Regions from separate parts of the Homo sapiens genome. Here all the other regions are linked to region 1. The links are contacts of gene promoters, found by promoter capture Hi-C in blood cells and fetal thymus (Javierre and others, 2016). All regions are on one chromosome and are shown on one strand. The core of a region is centred on a gene start or on the middle of the fragment in contact, and the rest is flanking DNA. Distances in the headings are between cores, read along the strand shown.

The links. The method cuts DNA at HindIII sites, captures the fragments that hold promoters and counts their contacts. A CHiCAGO score of 5 or more calls a contact.
Region 2: a fragment that was not itself captured here is called in contact with the fragment with the promoter of MAP3K6 in region 1 in 1 of 17 cell types (M0 macrophages); the score reaches 5.3 in M0 macrophages.
Region 3: a contact is called between a fragment that was not itself captured here and the fragment with the promoter of MAP3K6 in region 1, in 2 of 17 cell types (total CD4 T cells and naive CD8 T cells). The highest score is 5.5, in total CD4 T cells.
Region 4: a contact is called between a fragment that was not itself captured here and the fragment with the promoter of MAP3K6 in region 1, in 2 of 17 cell types (endothelial precursors and M0 macrophages). The highest score is 6.4, in endothelial precursors.

Annotation. Positions count from the first base shown.
Region 1 is chr1:27,365,674-27,368,431 of GRCh38, forward strand. It overlaps MAP3K6 (mitogen-activated protein kinase kinase kinase 6), which reads right to left and starts at 1,288. Exons shown (of 29, transcript NM_004672.5): 1 at 585-1,288. The coding sequence starts at 924. RefSeq lists enhancers at 269-1,212, 1,213-2,154 and silencers at 537-586, 657-876, 907-1,016. The HindIII fragment of the contact is 32,893 bases long and covers 1-2,758 here.
Region 2 is chr1:27,038,836-27,041,645 of GRCh38, forward strand. All of the region lies in intron 3 of LOC101928391 (a long non-coding RNA gene), which reads left to right. Among named protein-coding and RNA genes, the nearest start is that of TENT5B, 27 kb to the left of the region's middle. The HindIII fragment of the contact is 2,180 bases long and covers 319-2,498 here.
Region 3 is chr1:27,660,199-27,662,898 of GRCh38, forward strand. It overlaps LINC02574 (long intergenic non-protein coding RNA 2574), which reads right to left and starts at 2,524. Exons shown (of 2, transcript NR_151722.1): 1 at 2,479-2,524; 2 at 130-524. RefSeq lists enhancers at 2,140-2,655, 2,377-2,586, 2,656-2,700. The HindIII fragment of the contact is 8,150 bases long and covers 1-2,700 here.
Region 4 is chr1:27,056,762-27,059,461 of GRCh38, forward strand. It overlaps LOC101928391 (a long non-coding RNA gene), which reads left to right. Exons shown (of 8, transcript XR_007065559.1): 6 at 1,637-1,761. Among named protein-coding and RNA genes, the nearest start is that of TENT5B, 45 kb to the left of the region's middle. RefSeq lists silencers at 1,277-1,571, 2,297-2,591. The HindIII fragment of the contact is 671 bases long and covers 921-1,591 here.

The sequences.
Region 1 (2,758 bases), core at 38-2,537:
CCGCTGAGGCCACTTAACCTAAGCTCCCTCACCCAGTATCCAGTCCCGTCGGGCCCCTTCGCTTCTCTTTTTGCCTCTCCTAGCCCGATCCTTGGAAATAGTATGCTAGGACTCCTGAACTCCAGCCTCCCGGCCCCTTTCCCTAAGTCCAAGCTCCTCTCCCAGTAATTGTCCTCAAGAGATCCGCGTGACATTCTCCTGAGGGTGAGGCTGAGTTCTCCAACCCCACCCCTGAGACACCACAGCCCCGCGCCGCTCCCCGCCCCGCCCCAGAGTTCCAAAGCCCCTCCCCATCCTTGCCCCGCTGGCTGGGCACCGCTCCGACTGAAGGGTGCCTAAGCCCCAACCTCGAGCCCTAGAGCCGCGCCCGGATCCCTGTCTCGTCCCGAGCCCGGCCGCGCCCCAGATCCCCTAAATCCCACTTTTTTCACGGCCCTGTCCCAAGCCCTTCAGCTTTAGCTCACTTTAAGTCCCCTAGACCCGGTACCCCTCTCGGCCCCTCCCTTGAGCCTTCGAGCCCGGCTTGGTCCCCTCCCAGGACCCTGAGTCCCGCCCGGATCCGGCCCCGCCCCCAGCGCTCTCACCCGCGTTGTAGAAGGCATCCAGAGCCGCGGTGTCGCCTAGCTCCAGCGTCCCGAAGGGCAGGCTGCGCAGCTGCGGGGGCGGCCGCGGCCGGGGGACCTGCGCGCAAGCCTCGCGCAGGCAGCGCAGGGGCAGCGGCTCCGCCTCGGTTCCCTCCCGAGGCTCGAGCCCGGGCTGCGGCTCCCGGGTCAGCACGTAGACCACGCTGAGCGGCCGGCTCCGCGCGCAGCCCCGGCCCGGGGGCGCCGCGAGCTGCCGGCCCCGGCTCAGCGCCACGGCCAGCGGGTCCTGCCAGCAGCTGCCGGCGCGCTCCGCCCCGGACCGGGGACACGGCCCCGCCATGCGGGGGCGCTCAGGCGCGGGGCGCCGCGCACTGGGAACCGGGGGCGGGGCAGGAGCCTGGGCCGGCAGATCAGGAATCTTGGGATCTGGAATCCGTTCGGAATCGGAGAATCTCCCACGGGATCTAGGGATCCGGAATACGGCCTGACGTCCCGTTCCAGGAATCTAAAGTCCAGGGAGAAATCCTAGCTCGGACTTGCAAGGTCCTGAGGTTCTGAAATCCGGGATTGGGTCCCAGGAATCTGGGGCATCCGGTGATCGGCAGCTCAGAGCCACTTGGGGGATCCTGGGAATCGGCTCGGAGGTGCCCGCCACCTGGACTTCTCAAGGGAGCGCCCGCCAACGCTGCCCTGCCTTCACTTGTAGGCTAAGCCCAGCCCTTTCCCGGCCGACCCAGAAAGCTCCACCCTCGGCCCTGGGGCAGAGCCGCTCCCTAGCGGCTTGAGACTCAGCCTCTCCCCTCCCTTCTCTCCCGCCAGAACTTTGGAGACTGGCGGCTTCCGGAACAGCCTGTGCCCCTGTGCACGCCAAAGACTGTGGACTGCTCACAGCAAGTGCACATAAAATGTGTGAGGAGGCCAGGGCTAGGGAAAAGGTTCGATATGCAGGCCCTGCTCTGCAGGTATCTGTTGAATGAATGGCTCTCTAGAGACATCAGGGTGCGCAGAGCATGATGAACAATGGGTGTCCTCCCGGGCCCAGTGAGCGCAGGCAGGGAGGGACTGGGATGGGGGAAACCTACACCCTAGGCCGCTTGCCCGAAAGCCTTCAGTCCTGGAGTGGGACTTGGCATCTGAGCCTTAACTGTCACTAGGGGGCTGCTTTCCCCAGGACCCAACCTGCTGTGGACCCCCGCTGACCTTTGACTTCTAGGCAGAACGTGGCCATGGGACCTGAGAAGCACTTCCTACTCTAAACAACTCTAAACATTTCTTTAGCCACCCCTTGAAGGAGTCAACCCCAGCCCTTTGCACTACAGCAGCTTCTCAGCTTCAAATCCCCAAGAGTCCCCAACTTTCTTGTGTGAATTAATGAGTGAGGCAGCAACCTGGTAGAAGCCTCAGTGGACCCTGAAACCAAGAACTGGGGACTTAAGTTGAATAACTTGTCCAGGATCACTCAGCACATGACAGCAGGGTGCAAACCCAGGACCGCCTGTCAGACTCTTAACTATTTAATTCTGCCACTTACTAGAATGTGGCTTTGGGCAAATAAACTGCTTAAATGCTACTCAATGGCTGTTTCATTGCCCTGTTGCCTTGTGGAAGAAAAAGGTACCTTCCTTGGTTTGACCTTGGATTCGAACTGACACCCAATGAGATAGGCAGGAAGTGGTAGAGTTTGAGAACTTGGCCTGCAACAGAGGCTGGAGTGGAAAACAGACAACTTACAAAGGACAGGCATGGGCAACCGACAGGCTGAGAAAGCTGTGCAATTCCCAGCCAGGGCGGTGGCTCATGCCTGTAATCCCACTTTGGGAGGCCAAGATGAGTGGATCACGAGGTCAGGAGTTCGAGACCAGCCTGGCCAACATGGTGAAACCCCGTCTCTACTAAAAATACAAAAAAAAGTAGCTGGGTGTGGTGGCACCTGCCTGTGATCCCAGCTACTTGGGAGCTGAGGCAGGAGAATCACTTGAACCTGGGAGATGGAGGTTGCGGTGAGTGGAGATCGTGCCATTGCACTCCAGCCTGGGCGGGGCGACAGAGCAAGACTCCATCTCAAAAAAAAAAAAAGCTATGCAATTGTGCAATTCCTGCCACAAAGCCATCCACTTGCAGGACCCAGAGGGCCTCGGGAAATTGTCAATGGATGCTTGGATCTCCTCTAATCC
Region 2 (2,810 bases), core at 159-2,658, 330 kb before region 1:
TGTGTCTCAAAAAAATAAAAATAAAAATAAATAAATAAATAAAAATAAAATAGAAATAATAATAGAACAGTGCCTGGCACATAATAGGCACTATGTAAGTGTTGGTTGTTGTTGCTAAATTGTCATTTTATTAATTTTAAGTTATTTTGTGCCCCCTTTTGGCTGTTTCTGCCAGCCTGCAAGGTTGCAGGAACACGAGGTTTTTCTGCACTGGTGATCTGGTGTCAGGCTCCAGCCTCGAGCTTGCTCAGAGGTAGTCGCAGGGATGAAAGCAGGGGTAGCAGCTTCTTAAATCCAGCTTTCTGATCCCTGCATTGAAGCTTCAGTGGTAAGTTGTTGAATTCATAGCTCTGGCGTTGACTTTCTCAGTGGGTCGAGTATGGAAAGGTCTGGAATCATTCCTGGAGGCCTGGCTCATTGAGCCTCTCTGATGGTTGTGCAAGGACCTACTGCTCTGTATTAAATACTTTGCTGCTAAAAACACCAAGAGGGGTTTCTGTTTCCTGCATTGACCCTGCCCTCACCAGACCCTGCCGCATTCTCTGCATCCCCTCTTCTGGGTCCTCATCTCTGCTGCTCCTTCCTTGGCGTCATCATTGCCACCTCCATGCGTTCTGGAACTCTACCTTCCAGGCTCCCCCTCCCTGAGTCCTCTCCTCTCGGTCTCTTCCTCTTCCTCCTTCACGGTGGGGCTTCTCGGGGGGCTGGCCACCGCAGCCTCACATGTCCCAAACTCATTGCATGGTCTTCTCTCCCCAGTTTGGCCTGTTTTAGCCTGGGGCCCAAACCACAAAGAAAGCTGGGAGCCTCCTTAGAACTTGAGCCTCTTTCCTCCCTCCACTCTGTCTGGGCCTTCTAACATTCAGTGAGCGCCTACTGTGTACTGGGCCGAGCAGCACCCAGAGTTGAGGCTGACCCAGTGTGGGCTCCTGGATGTATGTAAACACCTGTGAAGTTCCGCAAATGGGAGGGATGGGGGAGAGCTCTGTAATAAGTCTAGATTTTTAACAGTCAACAGGGAGGTTCAAAGATGCGGCCGCCTTGCCTCAGTTTGGGTCGCCTCTAAAGGGCCCTTTCAGCCCCAGAATTCCCTGTGGAATAGGCTGAGGCCTTGGCTGTAGCTTCTGCTTCTCACTCCCTTTTGGGGTGGTCCCTGAGAGCAGCCCCCCGTAAGCTGCTGAGTGAGGATCTCCTCTGAGTCTGTTTCAGGGTCCCAGAGCCCAGAGCCCAGAGCCCAGAGTGACTGCTCCTGAGACAACCAACCAGCCATAGTGGAGGCTCTGGCTTGGCTTCAGCCCCCCGAGGGTCAGACTTTACTGCCTCCTCCTTCTTTCTCCATTTCGGGAGCCACCGCCTGAGGCCAAGGTTGTGGCCTGTCTAAATCTCCACAGCTTCTTAAGTGGTTTCCCCCCCCCCGGCTCTCTTGCCTCTTCTGACCCCTTCTCCACAGGGCAGCCAGAAGGATCCAAGCAGATCCAGCCAATCTCCAGCTTAAGCCCTTCAAGGCTACCCATTGCTTTGACGATAAATTGAGCTCCTGACCCCGGGGGTTACCTCCCAGCTCTGCACACCTCCTCTCAGCTGCTGCAGCTGCCTCAAGGCTGCCTCCCTGTTCCCCATGCCTCCCTCTGTAGCAGGGCTCTTTTCCATTTCCCTCAGCTCCTTTCCAGCCTTCAAATTTCAGTCAAATGTCCCATCCTCAGGGACAAGGGCATGTCTGCTCCCCAGGGGCAGCCTGTTACTGGTTAATGGGAGGCTCAAAGGCCTGGCCACCTTGCCTCAGTTTGGGTCCACTCTGAAGGGCCTTCCCAGTTTCTCAGGGAAACCACTTCTTTTTTTTTTTTTTTTTTCGAGGTGGAGTCTCCCTCTGTCGCCCAGGCTGGAGTGCAGTGGCGCGATCTCGGCTCACTGCAACCTCTGCCTCCCGGGTTCACGCCATTCTCCTGTCTTAGCCTCCTGAGTAGCTGGGACTATAGGCACCTGCCACCACGCCTGGCTAATTTTTTGTATTTTTAGTAGAGATGGGGTTTCACCATGTTAGCCAGGATATTCTCGATCTCCTGACCTTGTGATCTGCCCACTTCGGCCTCCCAAAGTGCTGGGATTACAGGTGTGAGCCACTGCGCCCGGCAATCCAATTTCTAACTACATATTTATTCGTGTGATTAACTACTGGATGTCTGTAAGTCGTCCAGGTGCAAGGACAGTACCTACCTCGTTCACCAGGATATACTGGAAGCCCGGCACCATGCCTGGCTTACATAAGAGGCACTCTGTAAAAGCTGAATGAGTGAATGGAGGGATGAATGAATGAAAGCACTCTGTAAACTCTAAAGCAGGAGTGATGGGAAAGGATGGACGATAGTAATTGTAAAATAACTACTGTCTAGCAGGCAGAGGCAGCAACACAGCAGGAGTCTCCCCAGCCTGTGGCTGGGCAGGCTGTACCCTGAGTGGCCTCTTCCCCACCGCACCTCACCCTACACTCCAGGGTCACAAGCTTGGTAAGTCTGAAAATAACAGCAGCTATTTCACCCATACTGCCTCATTGAACCTGCACGAGAGGATCTTGGGGTGATGCTATCATTATTCCCACTGTAAAGATTTGGAAACTGGGGCTCAGGGAGCTTCAGTAATTTACCCAAGATAAATGAATGGTGGGGCTGGGATTCAAACATAGGTCTATCGAAGGTCATAGCCCACCCAAGCGTTCATGTTGACACTCTCCTGCCCCTCTGGTCACCTTTAAACCTTTCAATCTCTTCATCCCCATCTTTTTTTTTTTTTTTTTTTTTGAGATGGAGTCTTGC
Region 3 (2,700 bases), core at 197-2,696, 290 kb after region 1:
CGGATGCCCCGCCCAGTGGCCTTGCCTGGGAAAGGCGACTGGGGCACCGGTGGGTGCGGACCCTCAAAGGGTGAAAATAATTCCCGTGTGAATTGCGCGCATTATAACTGCTCTAAGAAATGCAGCCAGGGCATTTTAAAATGTATTTTTTCAATCACTCCTCTTCCAGCCATTTATCCGTCCGTCTGTATGTATGTCTATCCAGTCAGCCAAAGTAATTGGGTGCCTCCTGAGTGCCAGGCGCTGTGCTGGGTTCTAGCTATAAAGAGAGATGAACCCTCTGCTTGTCCTCAGGGAGCTCATAATCTAGGGCGGAAGCCTGATGGTAACAAATGCTCATGCCATCGTTTTCATTGCAGTCATGATTCATTCTGGGACGGTGAGATACAGGCTGCTGCAATAACCAGGTGTCTAACTTGGATTGGGGCTCAGGTCCCTGTAGAAGTTACATCGAGCCGACTCCTGAAGCAACAAGTGTTCCAGGCAGAGGGAAGAGCTTGTGCAAAGGCAATGAGGCTAGCAGGCTGGAAAATAAGGGAAAGGAAACTGAGTGAGATGAGGCTCTGGAGGTTTACGGGAGCGAATTATTTAAGACCTTGGAGGCCATAGTAAGGAAATAGAATTTTCTTCTAAGTGCTGTGGGCAGTCACTGGGTACTTAGTGTTTTAAAATCTCCCTACCTCTGTGTGGAGAATAGACAGGAGTGGATACGGGAGTAAGAGTGGACACAGGGACACCTAGGAGGTGCCCTCCAGCATGGAAGGTAGTAAGCTAGATGAGAGGGAGGCTACTGTGGGTGGGACATGAACAGATTCAATAAATAATTAGAAGATACAATCCTCAGGCAGGTGGGTTGATGGATTGAATATGGGGGTGGGTGAGGCAGAGGGAGTTAAGATTAAGTCATTCATTCATTGGACAATTATTTATTGAGCCCCTCTAGATGCCAGGCACTGTTCTACAGAGGCAGACTCTCTGGGTTCAAATCCTTGTCCTGTCACTTGCTAGCTGCTTGCCTTAGGGAAATTATTTAACCTCTCTGTACCTTGATCTCTTCATCTGTAAAATGCGGATCCTAAGAACACCCGAGAGAATTATTGTAAGGATGAAAAGAGTTAATATATGTAAAACTTTGGACCTGGGTGTTTGGAGCTGGGCTCTGAGGCTGAGGACTGGGACTTGGGTACTTGGGGTTGGGTACCCGGGCCTACTTCTTGGAGTCACCAAGACTCTATGTCTTTACTGGCTTTATACAGAAAATTAAAAGAGTGACATGGAGAGCAAGCTGTTCCCACACCGTGAGTGAGACACAGGTATCCATACAATTTTAAGCTCTCAGATGATTCCAAGGGGCAGACAAGTTGGCAATTACTATGGTAGAGAGAAACAAGGAGGCAATTTTAAAGTAGGTGGTCAGGGAGGGCTTCTCTGAGGAGGTGACATTTGAGTGAAGACCAAAGAGTGCAGAAGGAGCCATCACTGAAAAGTTAGGGGGAAAAGCCTTTGGGAAGGTGTCTGGCCTAGGCACCGGCATGCCTGGAGGTGTCTTTGGCCCAAGTGTGAAAGACTGAAGGAGAAATGGGCTTAGTTTGGTGGGTTCCAAGGATAGTGATCATGGCTGAGTGAAGACCCCTACCCCTTCTGCAGATCAGAACCTGGAGCAGTTAAACCACGCTGTGCCCTGGTAGCTGTGGGTGCTGGGAGGCAAGCTCTACTGGTTCATCAAGAATTTGTGGTCAGGCTGAGGCAGGCAGATCACCTAAAGTCAGGAGTTCAAGACCAGCCTGGCCAACATGGCGAAACCCCGTAGCTACTAAACATACAAATATTAGCCGGGCATGGTGGCACGCACCAGTAATCCCAGCTACTCGGGAGGCTGAGGCAGGAGACTCGCTTGAACCCGGGAGGTGGAGGTTGCAGTGAGCCGAGATCGCACCATTGCACCATTGCCCTCCAGCCTGGGTGACAGAGCGAAACTCCATCTAAAAAAAAAAAAAAAAAAAAAAAACTAGCTGGATGTGGTGGTCCATGCCTGTGGTCCCAATTGGGAGGCTAAGGTGGGAGGATCACTTGAGCCCAGGAGGTCAAGGCTGCAGTGAGCCGTGATTGTGCTACTGCACTCCAGCCTGGGCGACAGAGCAAGACCCTGTCTCAAAAAAAAAAAAAAATCTCTCCTGTGGGCCCATGCCATTTGTTCACACAGATAATGAACCAGTGGGCCTCTGCCAGCTTCTGACTTGGCACTGGACGTTTCTCTGGGAACTGGTGCTTGGAGCGGGGAAATGGGGGCTGGATTTCTGGGACTGGGTTCTGAGGCTGGGGACTGGGACTTGGATACTGGGGGGTAGGTGCTTGGACTTGCTTTTTGGAATAACCAAGGCTCCATTTCTTTACTGGCCTCTACAGATGAGCCTGTTCCCTAACCTGACTATCCTTTCTGTGGCTTCACGGCACAGAACTTCACAAGTGTGACCTTACCTTGTCTCAGCTGTCTGTTCCATGGAGACCCAGAAAGAGGGAAAGAGAAGGCTGCTCTGGACCTGTTCATGGGGCCTTCCTGGGACCCCTTTTCCGCCCGCTAAGCCAGGAAGCCTATGCTCCCTCATCTTCCACCCCTCCCCCAGCCATCTGCTTAAAGGAAGTGGCTCCTCTGTTCTTCACAGGAAGCCACAGGCCTCCCCTGCCTCGGCAGCCTCCAGC
Region 4 (2,700 bases), core at 6-2,505, 310 kb before region 1:
CCAGGCTGGTCTTGAACTCCTGAACTCGTGATCTGCCCGCCTCAGCCTCCCAAAGTGCTGGGATTACAGGCGTGAGCCACTGTGCCCGGCCTTCTCCGAATAATTTTTTTAAATGAGCCAGGTGCGGTGGTATGTGCCTGTGGTCCCAGCTACTCAGGAGGCTGAGGCAGGAGGATCGTCTGAGCCTGGGAGGTCAAGGCTGCAGTGAGCCATGATCACACCACTACAGTCCAGCCTCCAGCCTCTGCAATGGAGTGAGAGTGTCTCAAAAAAAAAAAAAAAAAAAAAAAAACACAACAAAAAAACCCCACAGGACTTTTATCTTAAGATATCTTGGGGTAGACCATTTTTGAGTCAAGGCCCTCATGGTTGAAAGATGACTACCGTGGCTCCAAGCATCATATCCACAGAGAGCAACTAAATAACAGCTGTTATATATTGAGTACTTATCATGTGCTAGAACTGTCTGGGCATTTTAGGTGTATTCACTCATTTGATTTTCACAGCACCCTGAGAAGAAAGTCCAATTATTTTCATTTTGCAGAGGAGGAACACGAGGTACAGAAAGGTCAAGTAATCTGCTTAAGACAACACAGCCAATCGGAGGCAGAGCCATGCTTTTAGCCCAGATGGTTTGACCCTGGAGCCTGCACTTTTGTGTGGCTGCATTTGCCACGGGCAGCATCTCAGGAAGGGAGGCTTGGACAGGGGTCCTCCTAAAACATCTCTTTTTGTAAGAGGAGGAAAATTCCTCCCAGAAGCCCCCAGCAGCCTCCCCCTCTTATCTCATTGGCCAGAACAGGGTCCCATGGTTCTCCCCAACCCAATTACCAGCAGAGGGGAGTGGATCAAATGTAAATATCCCAGTCACCATCCACCTGGGGGTAATTAGTACATTGTCCTCCCACCAGAACAAAACAAGCTTCTTTTAGCAAGGAAGCGGGGGGGCAAATATCTGCCCCTAGGCAGAACCCATGGTTGGTAGCTGGGGTCCGCCAGCCCACTGGGATTGAAATAAGGTTGGCTCAGACCCCATCCCTTACTTTCCACAAGGCTTCTGCAATTTCTCAGGCTTACAATTGTGTGCCTCTGATTTCCGGCTTCTGCTGAATTCTAGCAGCTGTTCCCTTTATTTCTGCCCTGGAATTGACTCAAATGTAGGATGCAGCCCGTTTCTTCTCCCAAGAAACCGTGGATACCAGACTGCTCTGTAAGCAGAATTTCACTAAGATTTGTGGGTCCCTGGAAGAGTTATAGAGTGGCTCAGCACACGACTGAAAGTGGCACTGGGACGTCTCTGCTCTTACAAGCTGGTTTCTCAGGCATCCTCCAGCCCCGCCCGCACAGGGCTGCTGCTCCCATCTGCTGGCGCCCATGCCCATCTACCCGCCTCCCTTCTTCAGCCCCTGCGTGACAGACACCTCGATGCCCCAGGGGCTTCCAATTCTCACACAGGAGACCCTGCATTTCAGCTCTCCCTAGCCCCTCCTGCTCTTCCCAAACCAGGCTGCCAAGCCAAACCCAGTAAGGGCCTTTTAAGAACAAAAGGGCCTTTTAGTTAATGCAGCAGGATCTACTTTCCTTAGAAGGAAGCTTTGGTTATAAATAACAACCTTTCCCCTCTGGATTCCTCCAGGTGCATTGGAAATTCAAATTTCAGAATAAGCTGACTGCCAAGAGGGCCCTCCCCCTGTCGGGAGTCCCTTAGTCCATGGGAAATTCACAGAGAAGGAAACAGTCACTTTTCCTGCACCTGAGAAGGTAAAAATCAAACTGCCTTAGAAAGATTCTGTCCTCCTAAAAACTGGTGCCTCTGTACACCTCAAGGAGTCAGCAGGCTCTCCCTCCGAGGCTTAAAAGCCTCAGGGATTTCTTTTTTTCTTTTTTTCTTTTTTTTTTTTTGAGACGGAGTCTCGCTCTGTCACCCAGGCTGGAGTGCAGTGGCGCGGTCTTGGCTCACTGCAACCTCTGCCTGCCGGGTTCAAGTGATTCTCCTGCCTCAGCCACCTGTGAGCCACCGTGCCAGCCAGCCTCAGTGATTTCTTAGGAGCCTGTTGTATGCAATCTTGAGGGCTGAAGAAGTGAGAGGGACCCACCCCATCCTACCTCTACAGAATGCTTGGCACCCCCACCAATGTTCCTAGACTCCATCTCAGGACCAAGGTAGTGTAGACCCAAAGCCCGGCCCTATCCTGGCTCCCAAGCATCCCACAGCCTCTGGGGTAGAGGTGGTTAGAGGCACCAGCTCTAGACCTTGGCTGCCTTCTGTCTGCCCTCAGGGTCTGCTCAGATCAGGACACCCCCTCCCCCAGGCTGGGGCTCAGCCTCAGCATCCTTGGCAGGGCTCCCCACAGGGGCATTTCCACAACTTTCCAGCCCTGGCCTCCTGTTCAAGGGTTCGGCCTCAGGCAGGACTAGAGCTGAGTTGCAGAGGAGGAGGAGGAGCGGGGAGAGAGCCGAGTAGTTCAGGTTGCCGCAGGGGAGACAGGAGGGAGGAGAAGAGAAGGAGGGGAGGGAGCGAAGGTCCTCAGAACCCAAGTGCGGGGCAGCCTCAGGAAGGTGACTTCTGTTATTCTCCCTGTGTGCTGTGTCTTTAGGAAAATCCCCCTCACACGACAGCCCAACAGCCTTATACCCGCAGTTGCTCTGGGAGCAGGGGAAAATGTCCTGCAGTTCTTGCCCCTCATTTGGGTCAACTCC